5 separate regions of the Homo sapiens genome follow, and all the other regions are linked to region 1. The links are contacts of gene promoters, found by promoter capture Hi-C in blood cells and fetal thymus (Javierre and others, 2016). All regions are on one chromosome and are shown on one strand. Each heading gives the region's core, a stretch centred on a gene start or on the middle of the fragment in contact. The rest is flanking DNA. Distances are from core to core; before and after follow the strand shown.

What was found. The method cuts DNA at HindIII sites, captures the fragments that hold promoters and counts their contacts. A CHiCAGO score of 5 or more calls a contact.
Region 2: a contact is called between a fragment that was not itself captured here and the fragment with the promoter of AFF2 in region 1, in 1 of 17 cell types (neutrophils). The highest score is 6.3, in neutrophils.
Region 3: a contact is called between a fragment that was not itself captured here and the fragment with the promoter of AFF2 in region 1, in 1 of 17 cell types (activated CD4 T cells). The highest score is 6.4, in activated CD4 T cells.
Region 4: a contact is called between a fragment that was not itself captured here and the fragment with the promoter of AFF2 in region 1, in 1 of 17 cell types (neutrophils). The highest score is 5.5, in neutrophils.
Region 5: a fragment that was not itself captured here is called in contact with the fragment with the promoter of AFF2 in region 1 in 3 of 17 cell types (non-activated CD4 T cells, fetal thymus and naive CD4 T cells); the score reaches 7.1 in non-activated CD4 T cells.

The regions. Positions count from the first base shown.
Region 1 is chrX:148,499,197-148,502,105 of GRCh38, forward strand. AFF2 (ALF transcription elongation factor 2) reads left to right here and starts at 1,421. Exons shown (of 21, transcript NM_002025.4): 1 at 1,421-1,948. The coding sequence starts at 1,902. RefSeq lists an enhancer at 2,081-2,909. The HindIII fragment of the contact is 5,176 bases long and covers 1-2,909 here.
Region 2 is chrX:148,745,590-148,748,498 of GRCh38, forward strand. All of the region lies in intron 3 of AFF2 (ALF transcription elongation factor 2), which reads left to right. Among named protein-coding and RNA genes, the nearest start is that of AFF2, 250 kb to the left of the region's middle. The HindIII fragment of the contact is 465 bases long and covers 1,146-1,610 here.
Region 3 is chrX:148,278,918-148,281,826 of GRCh38, forward strand. No RefSeq gene overlaps it. Among named protein-coding and RNA genes, the nearest start is that of AFF2, 220 kb to the right of the region's middle. The HindIII fragment of the contact is 2,577 bases long and covers 192-2,768 here.
Region 4 is chrX:148,687,529-148,690,437 of GRCh38, forward strand. The region is part of intron 3 of AFF2 (ALF transcription elongation factor 2); the gene reads left to right. Among named protein-coding and RNA genes, the nearest start is that of AFF2, 190 kb to the left of the region's middle. The HindIII fragment of the contact is 2,679 bases long and covers 109-2,787 here.
Region 5 is chrX:148,333,344-148,336,252 of GRCh38, forward strand. No RefSeq gene overlaps it. Among named protein-coding and RNA genes, the nearest start is that of AFF2, 170 kb to the right of the region's middle. The HindIII fragment of the contact is 1,089 bases long and covers 899-1,987 here.

The DNA.
Region 1 (2,909 bases), core at 171-2,670:
CAGCCCTGGAAGAGCTTCCCAGGTTCTAGGTTCTAATCTGGGATCCCCCTCTAGGGGAAATATCAGATCTTGAGCATTTTAATGTCTTAGGGTCTCTGTTTCTTCAGGAAAAAAATGAAGTTAAAAGGTATTTGGATGATTTTGGTAATATGAGATAATACTGTAGAAGCATATTCAAATAGAAGGGAGAATGTCAGAGAAGTATGAGCCAGAGGGCTGCTGGGTGTTTTATGGAGAAACTGAGGCCCAGATAAGTGACTTGCTTGGAGTCACACACAGAGCTACCGGCACCCTGCTCTGTCAGGGCTCAGTCTGCTGTCCTTCCCAAGAGAGTTCTAGCCTTAGGATTTGAAAAATGTGCCAATACTATTCCCTCTGTATAACGACACGAAGAAGGCAAATTACATGCCTAGGACTCCAGAATGCTCATGTCCTGAAATGCCAGAAAGCGGTCCCGCCCCTTCCCACAGACCTTTCTCTGCACGGAGGCCAGGGAACCTTTCCCTCCAGGGAATTGGCTAAAGGGATCCACTCCTTCCTGGATCAGAGGTGGAGGTTGAAGGGAGTAGGAGGCTCGGTTAAACCCTCCACGTGCAGAAAGAGAATTTCAGGCCAGAAGGGAGACGGGCAGCCGGTGCGTGGGATACTGGGCACACACCCAGTGGTTTTCCCATTTCTCAGAGGAGGAGCTAGCAGAAGTCTTTTGCTCAAGGCACCTGGTGACCGTGCGAGGAAAGTGACAGTGGAACCCAGTTTAACAGTATCCTAACCCCGAACTCAAGGACCACGCAAGGGCAGTCATTTGTTCCTATCCTTGCTGCCCACTGAATCCAGGGCCTATAGCTCGCTGACCTACTAGGTGCGCGCCTAAAGGCATGCCTGGAGGGCCTGGGTGCGGGCACGTGGAGCCACGGGGCTGGTGAAGGTGACCGCCTTCTCCTTCCTGGACCCGCGTGCTACGCACTACAGACCTGAGGGATGCTCAGGCCCGCAAAGTTTGCTCCACTACTCGGGGGCTCAAGGAGCTGTGCTTGAGGTGGCAGGGGGCGACCTTCAACCCCACGGCTGTTTGTGCTGTCTTTTCTAGTTCAAAACTAATTCCCAGTGGTGGGGGTGGGCTGGGCTTCAGAGAGGGGTCCCATTCCCGAAGCCCGCGTCCTGGTCCCGCCAGCCCACCTCCTGTATCCCTGCCACGGCCCCTGCGTCCCGGGTCCGGGTCCGGGTCCTCAGCTCTGTGGCCGCTCCCACTAGCTGATTTTGACAGTGGGGGGTGGGAGAGGGTTCCCGAAAGGCAGGGGCGGGCGCGGCGAGCCCCTGCCAGATCCGGGGATGATAACGTGCCTGCTCCATGTCGCGGCTTCTAGCTGTCCAGGCTCCGCCCCCTGTGAGTGTGTAAGTGTGTGATGCTGCCGCGGCCGCCGCCGCCGCCTGTGCAGCCGCTGCCGCCGCCGCCGCCGCCGCCGCCGCCGCCGCCGCCGCCGCCGCCGCTGCCGCCCCGGCTGCCGCGCCGCGCCGCTGCCTCTGCCCCGGCCGCCCCCGCCGCCGCTGCCGCCGCCGGCCCGCAGCCAGCCAGGCGGGCGGCCCAGCCCGCCTGAGCCCGCAGCGGCTGCCGCCGCAGCGTCGGGTCGCTGGGTGCGCGGGCTACCGCGGACCGAGCGGACCCGAGTGGGCGACCAGGCGCTTGCCCGCCCAGTGCCACTGCCGCCGCTTCCTCGCCGGAGCACAGGACCAGACACCTCCAGCGCCCGCTGCTGCTGCCGATGCGGCCCGGACACTTTTAGCTGGGCGGGAGGGCTGGAGAGCCGGGGGCCGCCGAGAACCGCCAGCGAGCTGTGCCGAGAGCCGCGCCGACCCGCTGCGATCAGGGACAGGCGCCCGCCCGCCGCCGCCGCCTGGCCGCTATGGATCTATTCGACTTTTTCAGAGACTGGGACTTGGAGCAGCAGTGGTAGGTGTTGATTTTTGCCTTCTCCTTTGATGAGCGAGTCTCCTGGCGAAGTCTGAGGTTTTCGCCTTTGTTAAGAGGAGCTGAAGCTGTCGTGGGGGGCGCCCCGGACTCCCTCCCACTTGCTCTCAGCCACCTCTGGCCCCGGCCGCGCTGACTCCTAGGTCGGATGCCGGGGTGGGGGGAGGTGCGGGAAGAGGGAGGGATGCGGACCCGAAAGCGTCGCTTTGCGCTCCAAGTCTAAAGAGTTGCATTTGGCTCACATCGAATTCGGTGCCGCCCGAGGGCTGAACCGCACGACCTCCCAGGAGCTTTTCTCTCGGAGCGGCTTGCCGGTCTGGCCTCCTTGAGCCCCGGATGCCGCCCGCCCGAAATGTCTCAACTTTCCAGGTGCCCAACGCCCGCGGCGGGCCATGGGGGAAAGGCAACGGCCAGGTGCGGCCAGCAGCCCTCTGCTTCCTTGGTGGCCACCGCCCCCGCTGCCGCCACCTCCATCCCTGCGCTGCGCGGCGCGCACACCTTTCCTTCTGCCGACTCAGCCCAAGTTCCCTGCACTCCCGGGTGGAGCAGCGGCTTTGGGGGCCACCACTCAGGGGACCTTGGTTCGAGGCCGACTTCGGCGCTTGGCTTTCAAGACTGAGGGTTTTCGGAGTTGGCCCCCCAAATCCGCAGCTCTGATGTCAATGCACATTTAATTACCGGATGGACCCCCTTCGGCCTCCCACTGGGAGGCAGCCGTAGTTTTTTGTAAGGGACCTCCAGCTCAGATTCAAAGGTTGAGTCAGCTCTTCACAAAATACCCTAAACTTGTCGCTGAGACATTTTGAAAGATGGTAGAAAGGTGACTGGGGACCTGGAAAGTTGTTAACTCTCTTAGAGATGTGCGTGCGCGTGTGCATAAATACTGATATACATATCTATTAACTTTTCAAAAACTTCACCTACTACAAACATTATCACAGTT
Region 2 (2,909 bases), core at 128-2,627, 250 kb after region 1:
TAACCCAGGTTTTCCGTGCCTATGCCTTTATATGAATGTGATTATTGTTCTTGTCTCTTTAAATACTGAAGCCTGCAGTGCCTATTACAATTACATGTCCACTAAAGAACAAGTAGGCATCAGCTGACAATCATACTGCATTTTTATTATTATTATTATTGTTATTATTTTTAGACAGAGTCTGACTCTGTCGCCAACGCTGGGGTGTAGTGGTGCGATCTCGGTTCACTGCAACCTCTGCCTCCTGCGTTCAAGCAATTCTCCCACCTCAGCCTCCCGAGTAGCTGGGACTACAGGTGCCTGCCACCACGCCCGGCTAATTTATGTATTTTTAGTAGAGACAGGGTTTTGCCATGTTGGCCAGGCTGGTCTTGAACTCCTGACCTCAAGTGATCCACCCGCCTCAGCCTTCCTAAGTGCTGGGATTACAGTTGTGAGCCACCGCGCCCAGCCCGTAGTGCATTATTGAAAGGGAAAAACGCCTGCATAAGCAAGCACAGTGTAGCTTATAAATTAAAAAATAGTAGCCAAAGCAAAAAGAAGAAATATCAGTTGAAACAGCTACTTTATTAGTAATGTGTGATAGTGCTATAGGCAGACAAATAGCAATAGTCTTCTACTTACATATATTCTTAATTAATCTTGAAACCCTGACAGGCTTTTCACTGAAAATTCCATTTTGCTCCTTTGGATATCAGACCCTGTTTGTAAGATGCTATTTAGTTTTCTCCTAGCTACAGCCTAACCTTTTCTCTCTCAAGCCTTTTAAAAATGAATATTTCATAGCATAATTTGCCTTCCTTTGTAACTAGAGTGTTTTGGAAAGCTACAAATAAGAAAACACAGGTTGCAAAGCCAGGCAGAATCCCTCCTCTTACTTCTATTGTATCAATCAGAATGTTGGTTTTTCTAAAGGGATCAAAGCCATTTATCTGTTGGAGCACATTAAACCCCTGCCTAAAGGATTTAGGCTACTGTTTTCTCTTCCAGAAAGGAATTACCACAACCATACAAGTCAGCATAGTAAGAAGCTAAGAACATTTTGTCAATTCTCCCATTCATTCATTCATTCACTCATTCTACGTTTCCTGCAACTTCCTATCCTGGGCAGGAGACAGATAAGTAAATAAGCAGTGATGATACCAAGCTTTCTAATAGAGGGATGATGCAAGGAGGGGCTTACTGCCATCAGGCAAGTTTTCTCTAGTCAATTCCTTTCTGGCAGACTGAGGGCCAATTCACTGGTAGAGACTAGTTGGGATTGACATACCAATGAGGTAGAAACAGATTGTACCAAAGCATGGAAATGCAAAATGATCTGGCCCACTTTGGAAAGAAATTCAGCATGTGTAGTCATTGACATAGTGGCAGAGAGGTAGATGGACTGGGGACGGGGTTCCTAGATACAGAGAAGCATTAGATATTTGATTATTTCTTTAAGAAAAATACAAATAATTTTCAATGACCCCATGATTTCTACATGAAGCTCTCCTGACTCACACACCCAGAGACATTTATATCAATAAAGGTTATTGTTGGCAGTAACCAAGACTCCTCATGAACTCCTATTCACCCTTCAAGACCTAGCTTAAATAGCACTTTTGTAAGGAAGCTTCCCTTGATCCTGACTTCATGTCCCCTCTCAGAGCACTGCTCAAACATCATCTTTTGCGCTAGGCTGACTTGCCTATATTGCTCACCATTGTATCTCAAAGTTCAACATGGTGCCTGGCCCCTAGAAGGAGCTTGACAAATAATTTTTGAATGAACAAAAGAATATATATTATGCCCATTAAAACTCTATGAAGGATACAGGTACAACCTTGAGCACTCACGCAAAAAAAAATATTGTAGCTAAAAGAGTAAATGGAAGTAACACAATTTGAATCTTTATTATAAGACATTTAACTTAAAAGCACCAAGTTGAAAGTTTTTGGTTTTTGATTCGTCTTTCAAAGCCCAGAGTCACTTTCCAAATAATCTGCCTGGGACTGTTTTGTTGTTTACACATCTCTTTATTTTTTTTCCTGCTGTTATTTTCATTAACAACAAATATTTTAATATCATACTAAACTGAGCTACATTAGATCAACTCGAAATCTTTTAGACTCTCAAAAGCTGGGCATTACATATTCAAAACAGGACCTAATGTTTCAGAGCTTCATATTCTACTATAATTATATGGTTCAATGCAAGTGATTATATCTCTTCTTCAGTAACGGGCTGAAAAGTTTTGGTTTGCTGGTTCCCTCATAATTTACTGCCTAGGTATAATAGGCCAGTCTTGCGGAAAAAAAGATGATAAATGATGCTGGCTAGGAATCATAGATTTATTAAATTTCTATCAAACAGTGCAACAAAAAAAAATCTGCTTAAGTTAGAAATGGGCTCAAATTTTTTAATCAAAATTCATGAGTCCTGATGCTTGGTTCAGTAGGTCCAAGGAAGGTTTGAATTGAAGACTGATTAAAGAAAATAAAAGGCTTATTTGAAGTAATTTTTCAATGACGGCTTTTAATTGGATGTTAAATCAAATTCTTATCTGCCTTTCTGCAGATAGCACATTATATAAAATACAGTTAGCGGCACTACCACTGTAACGGATACACTGAATAACAATTGACTTCTCACTTTACACTGAGAGGGTAGAAGGGCTGTGTTTGTCAGCCTGTCAGAAATTAAGTATGTAAATTAATGCTTAAGTGTATGAATATGAATATGATTTACAAGAGGCTTGGAGTATTGTTGGGGAAAATACTGAGGTTTTTCTTTCCCCTTCAAGGTTAACAAGTACTCAGTGACCTTTACAGACAGCGTGCAGCCATGAGTGTGTTAGTGTGTGTACCCACGTGTGCATTTTGCCAGTGAGCTTGGGCTGGGAGCTTAAATACTCCCGAAGAGCAAATACC
Region 3 (2,909 bases), core at 230-2,729, 220 kb before region 1:
GAGTAAACAGACAACCTACAGAATGGGAGAACATTTTTGCAAACTATGCATCTGACAAAGGTCTAATATCCAGCATTTATAAGGAACTTAAATTTGCAAGAGAAAAACCAACAGCCTCATTAAAAAGTGGGCAAAGGACATGAACACTTCTAAAGAAGACATACACGTGGCTAAGTCATATAAAAAAAAAAAGCTTAGCATCACTTATCATTAGAGAAATGCAAATCCAAACCACAATGTGATATCGTTTCACACCAGTCAGAATGGCTAGTGTTAAAAAGTCAAAAAATAACAGCTGCTGGTGAGGTTGTGGAGAAAAGGGAACACTTACACACAGTTTTGGGGAGTGTAAATTAGTTCTACCATTGTGGAAAGCAGTATGGCGATTGCTCAAAGAACTAAAAGCAGAACTACCATTTGACTCAGCAATCCTATTATTGAGTATATACCCAAAGGAATATAAATAAATCTATTATAAAGACACACACACAGGTATGTTCACTGCAGCACTATTCACAATAGCAAACACGTGGAGTCAACCTAAATGCCCATCAATGATAGACTGGATAAAGAAAATGTGGTACCCATATGCCGTGGCATACTATGCAGCCATAAAAAACAACAGGATCATGTCCTTTGCAGGGACATGGATGAAGCTGGAGGCCATTATGCTTAGTAAACTAACACAGGAACAGAAAACCAAATATTGCATATTCTCACTTATAAGCGGGAGCTAAATGACGAGAACACATGGACACAGAGAAAGGAAGAACATACACTGGGGCCTATTGGAAGTTGGAGTGTGGGAGGAGGGAGTGGATCAGAAAAACTAATATGTACTAGGCCTAATACCTCGATGATGAAATAATCTGTGCGACAAACCCCCATGACACACATTTACCTATGTAACAAACCTGTGCATGTACCCCTGAACTTAAAATTAGCATATATGTAAATGTGTGTGTATGTGAAATGGGGTATCCATCTCCTCAAGTATTTATCCTTTGTGTTACAATCTATACTTTTATTTTAAAATGTACAATTAAATTAGCATTGACAATAGTCACCCTGTTGTGCTATCAGGTAGTAGATCTTATTATTTCCTAGCTTGAAAAACCATCTCTCTGCCTGTTTCTAGTAAAAGACACCACTACCCATCAGTTGCTGAAACCCCAAACCTGGGAGTCATCTCAGATTCCTACCTGTCTTTCACTCCCTGCTCTACTTTCAATAACATCTCCTATTGTCTCTTCCTCCAAAACATATCCTAAATTGATCAATTCTCAACCCCTCTAATATTACCAACCTCATTCAAGCCATTATCGTCTCTTGAATCATAGTCTAGCAAATAGTTACCTAACTGGTCTCCCTGTTTATATTCTTGATCTCATACCTACAGTCTATTCTCCAGAGGGTAAGCAGAATGATTTTAAAGCAGAATCCGATCATTTCCCTCCCCTCCTTAAAACCCTCCAATGGTTCTGTTGTATTTAGAATGAAAGAAGAAAATCTTTTGCATAGCCTGCAAGGCTCTGCATAATTCAGCCGCAAACAAACCTCTCTGATCATGTGTTCCATCACTCATGTCCCTCATCTGTGGTCTTTCAGCTACAGTGGCCTTGCTGTTTCTGCCCCATACCATGATTCTTCCTACATTAAGGCCTTAAAATGTGCTGTTTCCTCTGCCTGCAATACTCTGTTTTCAGATCTTTCCATGGCTGGCTCTTTGCTGTCATTCAGGTCTCAGTGCAAATATCACCTCCTTGCCTAATCACCCAATCTTAAATAGAAGATACTGCCCCATCAATGGTCACTCATAACCTGCTCTACCACCTACCCAGTTTTTTTTTCTTCATAATACTTAGAAGTTGAAATTTTCTTGTTTATTTCTTTATTTGTTCATTATTTATCTTCCACTATCTGAATGTTTGCTCCATTATGACAGAGTATTTTTTCTGTTTTTGTTCAGTCATGTATCCCCTGAGCACCTAGGACCAATGTCCAGCATGTAGTATCCACTCAAAAAATATTTATTAAGCAATACACTTTCTAAAGAAAGATGCCACATTTAGTTTGCTTCATCATTTGAAACATAGCTCTTTTGTGCAGCTTTTTTTTTTTTGCTAGAGTTTCTAATTGCCTTTTCTTCCCTCCGTCTCCCCCTCCCCTCCTTCCTTCCTTTCTTCTTTCCTGTCTCTGACAGAAGAGGCACTTGCTACTATTTCATCACTAAGAACCTCAAAGTTCTTACACATACAGTTTGTGGGATAGATTTATTTTCTTCTTAAAGGTATTTTTCAAGCATTCCTCTAACTTCATGTCCAGATTGAATCAATTACCTTCTATCATTCTGGGATACATTTTTATTTCCCACTTTAAAAGTACGTCCTTGAATGTTTTTCCCAAAAAAAAATGAAAATGAAAATTTCCAAGTCTTTTAATGCAGAAAATGGCTTTACTTTGCCCTCTCAGTTGATTGTTTTTTCTAGAATAAAATTACAGGTTTTAATTTATTTCCCATTAGAACTTTAAAGACATTGTCCTTTACAGTTTTAATAAGGAGAGTAACATCAATCTGATCCCACTCCTTTAGAGATGACTGATTTAATTGGTTTTCTTTTATATCAGGAATCTTTTCATTTGTTCGCTTATTCCGCAAATGTTTATGGTGTATCTACTATATGTCAGGTAGTATTTTAGTAACTAGATTTATAGAAATGAATAAAACATTGTTCATTGTTTTGTAGGCTAAAATCCCTGCCTCATGAAGCTTATTTTCTAGTGGGTAAAGAGAATAAAAAGTATAAGTATATAAAATTTGTGGTATATAAGATGGTGATAAATCCTCGGTAGACAAATAAAGCATGGAGGGATAAGAAGTACTAGGGGAGGGGATTACATTTAGATAA
Region 4 (2,909 bases), core at 198-2,697, 190 kb after region 1:
AGAGTTTTCTACATATTTACTTCTTAAGATGATATTGGTACTTAAGTAAGAGCTCATTATTTTAAAGCCTTTGATTTCCCTTCTGCTTGATCCTTCTGTGAAACCAGAAGCTTGTGTCTTTAGCTTCCTAGTCTCTTTTTATGCAATGTGGATTTTTTTTTGGTATGTGTAGTACAACCAAGGATGTCAGGAGGTGTGTCGCTTTGTTTAATACACATTGATGTTTAAACATTTAAATATTGCTAAAGAAAACCAGCTGGCAAATAATTTAGACGTATGTATGGTAAGTCATTCCTTTTTCCTCTTTCTCCGCTTATCCCCATCTCTTTCCCTTCTTTCTGTATTTGATAGCTACTATGCACTAGACATCAGATATGTATATGCAGCTGCCTTGTACACATCTCTATTTGGATGTTCCCATTGGGACCTCATATTCATAATAATTAACACTGAACAGCTGATGGCGCTACTATCTATGCCAGAAGCCTGGAATCACCTACAATCTCTCCCCCTCCCTCATGTTCTATAGCCTATCAATCACCGAATCCTACCTTCCTCATTTACTTTGAAACTGTAGTTCCAACACTTTGGCCATCACCTTACAACAGGTAAGCATCATGACTCAGCTGATTTCTGCTGCTGGTTTTCTTACCTCTGGCCCCACACTGCTGAACCCCTGCCTTTTCCACGTTGCAGCCAGACTGATCTCTTAGTGCCACCCATTGCCTAAAGAAAGAAGTCAAACCTCTGGAGATCCCCTTGTGACCTGGCCCTTGCTGCCCTTGCCAGCTTCTTCTAACTTACTGCCTTCCAGCTATATGAAGTGTGCCATCATACTTTTACCAGCTAATCTCAGTTTACTCTTGATATCCTTTGGGAAGACTTCTCAAAGCAGGTATTCCTCTTTTCTGTTCCTGCAGTTTTTGTAGTCCTTACGCCACTGAAACTCGTCTCACATTCTATTTTGATTGCCTGTTTACATATGTTACTCTCCCAATAGCCTGGAAACTCCTTGAGGGCAAGGAGTATAGTGAAATTAATTTATCATTGTATCCCTTGTACCTAGCACAGAACGTAGCACTTAAGTAGGGGCCTAATAAATATAGTCATGAATCACTTAACAACAGGGATGCGTTCTGAGAAGTGCATCATTAGACAATTTATCATTTTGTGAAATATGATGGAGTGCACTTACACAAACCTAGATGGCATAGCATACCACACACCTAGGTTGTATGGCATCCTATTGCTCCTAGTCTACAAACCTGTATGGCAAGCGACTATACTAAATACTATAGGCAACTGTAACACAATGGTAAGTATTTGTGTATCTAAACATATCTAAACATTGAAAAGGTACAGTAAAAATACATTATTATAATCTTATGAGGCCACCATGACATATGTGGTTGGTTGTTGACTGAAATGACTGTACTTGCTATAGTGTTCCTTGTTGTATTAGTTTGTTAGGTTGGCTATAACAAAGTATGTACTACAGCCTGTGTGGTTTAAGCAAAAGAAACACATTTTCTCCCAGCTCTGGAAGCTAGAACACTGAGACAAAGGTGTGGACAGTGTTGGTTTCTTCTGAGCCCCCTCTCCTTGGCTTGTAGGTTGCCATCTTCTTTCTGTGTCTTCACATGATCTTCCTGTGCAAGTCTGTGTCCTAATCTCTTCTTGTAAGGACATCATTTAGATTGTGTTAGGGCCCACTCTGATTACCTTGTTTTGCCTTTATCACCTTTCTTAAGGCCTTATGTCCCAAAACAGTGACATTCTGAGGCAGTGGGGGTTAGGATTTCAACATACAAATTTGGAAGGAGGCGACAAAACTCAGCCCATTGCACTTGCCCTTCAGATATTTTCAGACTAGTGCTTGATTGTCCTGAAGGCCTGTCTTACGAGATATGAATAGAAATGTTTGGAGTGGGATTTTCACAATGGCCTCCTGGAGTGTCTGTGGTTGGGAAGGTCCCAGGTTTTAAGTGTGTGTGGTCCCCAGGACCACTCCTGGGCAATGAGTTTCTCTTTTTCTAGTTCATGGATTCAACTGGTTTGATTGCTTAAGGAGCAATGATGATAGGCTGTGTTCAGGAAATCAGAGTTGAACAGATGTCTTTTGGTAATATTGGCTATACTGCCAGATCTGAGGGCTTTTCCTTTACTTTCAGTGCCCAGTGAATGATATTATAACTGTTTAGAATGTGACTATTATCAGAATGCAAACATGTTTGAAAAACTTTACCCTTAGCTTCTCTGAATTGACTTACTACTGTTAAGGCAAACTTGGATACTCAGAAAGTATTTGGCTGGCTTTGTTGCATTTTCACCTTCTTGATGAATGGAATCTATTAGTTATTTGCTTATTCAGAAACATGTGAATCATCTATAGCCGATTCTCTCTGTGTGTTTGACTGACTGACATTGTCTGCCATCTCTCAAGTATTCTTTCTGTATATAAAATCCTAGACTCCTGTGCAGTTTAAATATAAAATTAAAATGTTACCAAAAGACTCAGGTATTTTCAGCCTGGCCTGACAGCCCATCTTATGGAAGGCCTGTTTGAACTGATGGGCCCTTGATGTCAGCAGACCCAGACTTTTCAGGTCAGAGGAAAGAAAGTGTCTAGAATCATAGATCTTACAGAGAAAAGAGGCTACTTGCCTTCACTGCAGTTTGTAGTGAGGGACTGTTGTGATCAAATAATCAGGAAAGAGCATGCCTCAAGTTGTCAGAATGTGTAATCATTTTATGCCAAGTCAAGGATAACTCAGTAACTGAGCAAAAAGCTTTTTGTTTTCCAGTTAACTAGTTAGTTACAACCCGCTCTCTGGCAGTGTGGACCATAGAATCATAGAACCACAGAGAATGTAGCAGTAAGGACCCATAGATACCATCTAGTCTAAACC
Region 5 (2,909 bases), core at 193-2,692, 170 kb before region 1:
GTGGCTGAGACACAGAGGGCCTCAAGGGCAGTCATAGGATAAGGCAGGGCCTACTAGACAGGATGGAGAGCAACATCATGCCTGGATTGAGATGACAGGACAAGCGGTATTTCATTAGCCCTGTACCTCATTGTTGGTTGCCAGGAAGGTGGAGTATCTGAGGACATTACTATAGAGGCCATGAGCATTCTCACAAGGATCTCCTTGCCAACCTCTGTTGCTATCTTGGGAACAAAGGATGTAGGGATGGGTGGTGAAACTCTGGAACACTCAGCATTTACCTAAAGGGACTAAGTTAACCTAGAAGAGACTATTTTTGATGGAAGGAGACTGCATACCCACTAATTAGAAGATTTTAAGATACTCCTCATCACCATTATTTATTGGAATAGGGACTTCAGATAGAGATAAGAACACTTATCAGAGTTTCTTGACCAATCATTGACACTCTGGGTAAGATAATCCTTTGTTATGCAGGATTGTCCTGGGCATTGCAAGATGTTTAGCAGCATCTAAGCCTTCTACCCATTAGATGCCAGTAGTCACTCTACCCTCCATTCTGGAAGTCACAAAAACCTCTCCCTTCAAGAGTAAAATTGCCCCCAGCCAAGAAACATTTCATTTTATGCATTCTATACACATCTGAGGACAGAGGGCTCATTTTTCCACCCCTCTCTCTACCTACATGTTCTAGCTCAGGACTCAAATATCCTACATGATGTGAGACAAGCAAACTTCCTCTCCTGTGTGACTTCTTCCTCCTGTTGAACAATGCAAAGAGCCTGAAGGCCATGCCCTTTCCTGCATAATACATGCCCTTCTTTGTATTCAGCTTTGTTTCTTATACTAAAATTACATCCTGTTTCTTTGCTCTCAGAGCCCCACAGGCTGTGTCTCAAGCTTCCTGTGTTCTGATATGATTGTATTACCTGTTCTGAGATGTGCTTTCTGCCACTAGTGTGATTTTAATTCATCCTTCCAGGTTTCCTTTGCCCTCCTGCATTTTTCCCCCTCCTACACTGCCTCCCATAGCGGCTACTCTTACCTCAGCACTCCTCTTTATTTCTTCTTTTTTGAGTTGGGTCCATCTCTCTTGGCTCTACTCAGCCCTTTTAATCTTGGTTTATTTTCCAATGGATTCTGGGAGGTGCCCATCCCCTACCTGCTCCACCTCCACCCTGCTGACCTCCTCTGTAGAATCTGATGAGCCATTGCTACTGAATGAGGAAAGGCTTAACCTTCCTTTCCCCACCCCATATTCCTTTCCCTGGCCCCTCTTTTTCCTCCATAGCTTCTGTCTCTGTTTTTATTCTTTGTTTCTTGTCCACCGCAAGGTAAAATTCAGCCTCTTCCTTATGTTCCCCATCTCACCCTTGCCCACATTTGTGACATGTCTGTGGTCTTCCCTTTGTCATGTGAAGAACGGCAGTGGGATAGAGAGCCTAGTGAAGAGGATGCACGCAGTGCCGGGAGTCAGTCATTCAGACAGGGACATAGGTCTTGGAACTTATACATTTCTCAGCTGTGTAAAATATGGGTAATAAGAGTACCTAATCCATAGGGGCACTGAAGGATTCAATGAGTTTGCAGTGTACAACGTTTAGTACATTCTAAACTGTATGCCCTGATATCTAGTGGATATGCAGTGAATGTTTGTCAAATGGCTAAAATTTTGCATGATATGCAGCCCAAGGCCTGGCACATAGTGAATGCTCAAAGTAAAAATGTTCTTCACCTGAACTGAATCAAACTCTCTTTTCGATATTAGATTTGATGGTCCGGACCTCAAAGCCAAACCTTACTTTCTTCATAAGTCACAGTCTTTTCTTCTTCAGGTTGTAACTTCTCCTATGTCTATAATTTGATTCCTCAAGAAAGCAAAGATGCTACCTTAACCTACTACACAGAATCCTTCCCAAACTATTCTTACTGACTCTTCTCCTAGTGTACCCTACAAAGTAAACTCATTATTTTTCTGCTGATTTGAAGCTTATATCAAACTTTACGGGAATTTAATCACGACAAATTTGTCCCTAGGGTACATTGCCAATTGGATTAGTAATCAGGATCCCCTGCACATAATCTCTGTGCAGCTTTTGAAGCAGATCCACATGCCAAATCTTCCCTTGGAGGACTCTCCCTGCTCTCCTCCTCCTCAATGTGGAAAAAATTTCTTATCTTTTCTTCTTTGTCAGCTTCTCTTCTGCCTGTATCTCTCATGGAGGGCTAAGGAGAGATGCCACTGACGTTAACTGCCTCCTTTTTACCTCCTCCTTGCTCCCCATTATTTTATACCTCTGTCCTCCACCCTGCTGCCATTCTTCAGACTTTTTTCTTTTCCCTCTGATTATTAAACTGAATTTAATCCTGCTGGATAAATTGAGCGGGTGGTATTAGATCCGTTGCCAGATGAGGAAAGTCAGAGTGGCACATTACCACCATTGTTCAAGTGATAGAATAGCACAGCACTGCTGGAATCCAGATTAGACATGAAGGTCCCGCCTCTGAGCCTGTGGATTTTTCACTTTGTCAAAACCATATTGACTTCAAACAGAGTGTCAGTGGACATTACCAATCTCTACAAAATCTAAGATATGTTGTGTTTTTATCGTTAAAGGTTGTTACCCATAATGAAGAAAGGATTCATATTAGTCTAATACTTCTATAGAGCAGTGTTCAAAATCATTAGTGTTTTATCTCCATATTTGTCATTTGTTATTTCAAAAATTATTTATGTACATAAACAGGAAACAGTAACTACAATTTTATAGCACTTCAAATTTACAAAGTCATTTTATAACCCATTGTTTCATTTGCATCCTCAAAACAATCTTGCAAAGAGTGCATTGTTAACCCTATTTTACAGATCTTGAAACTGAGGCTCAGAAAACTTCAATAATTTAATGCAA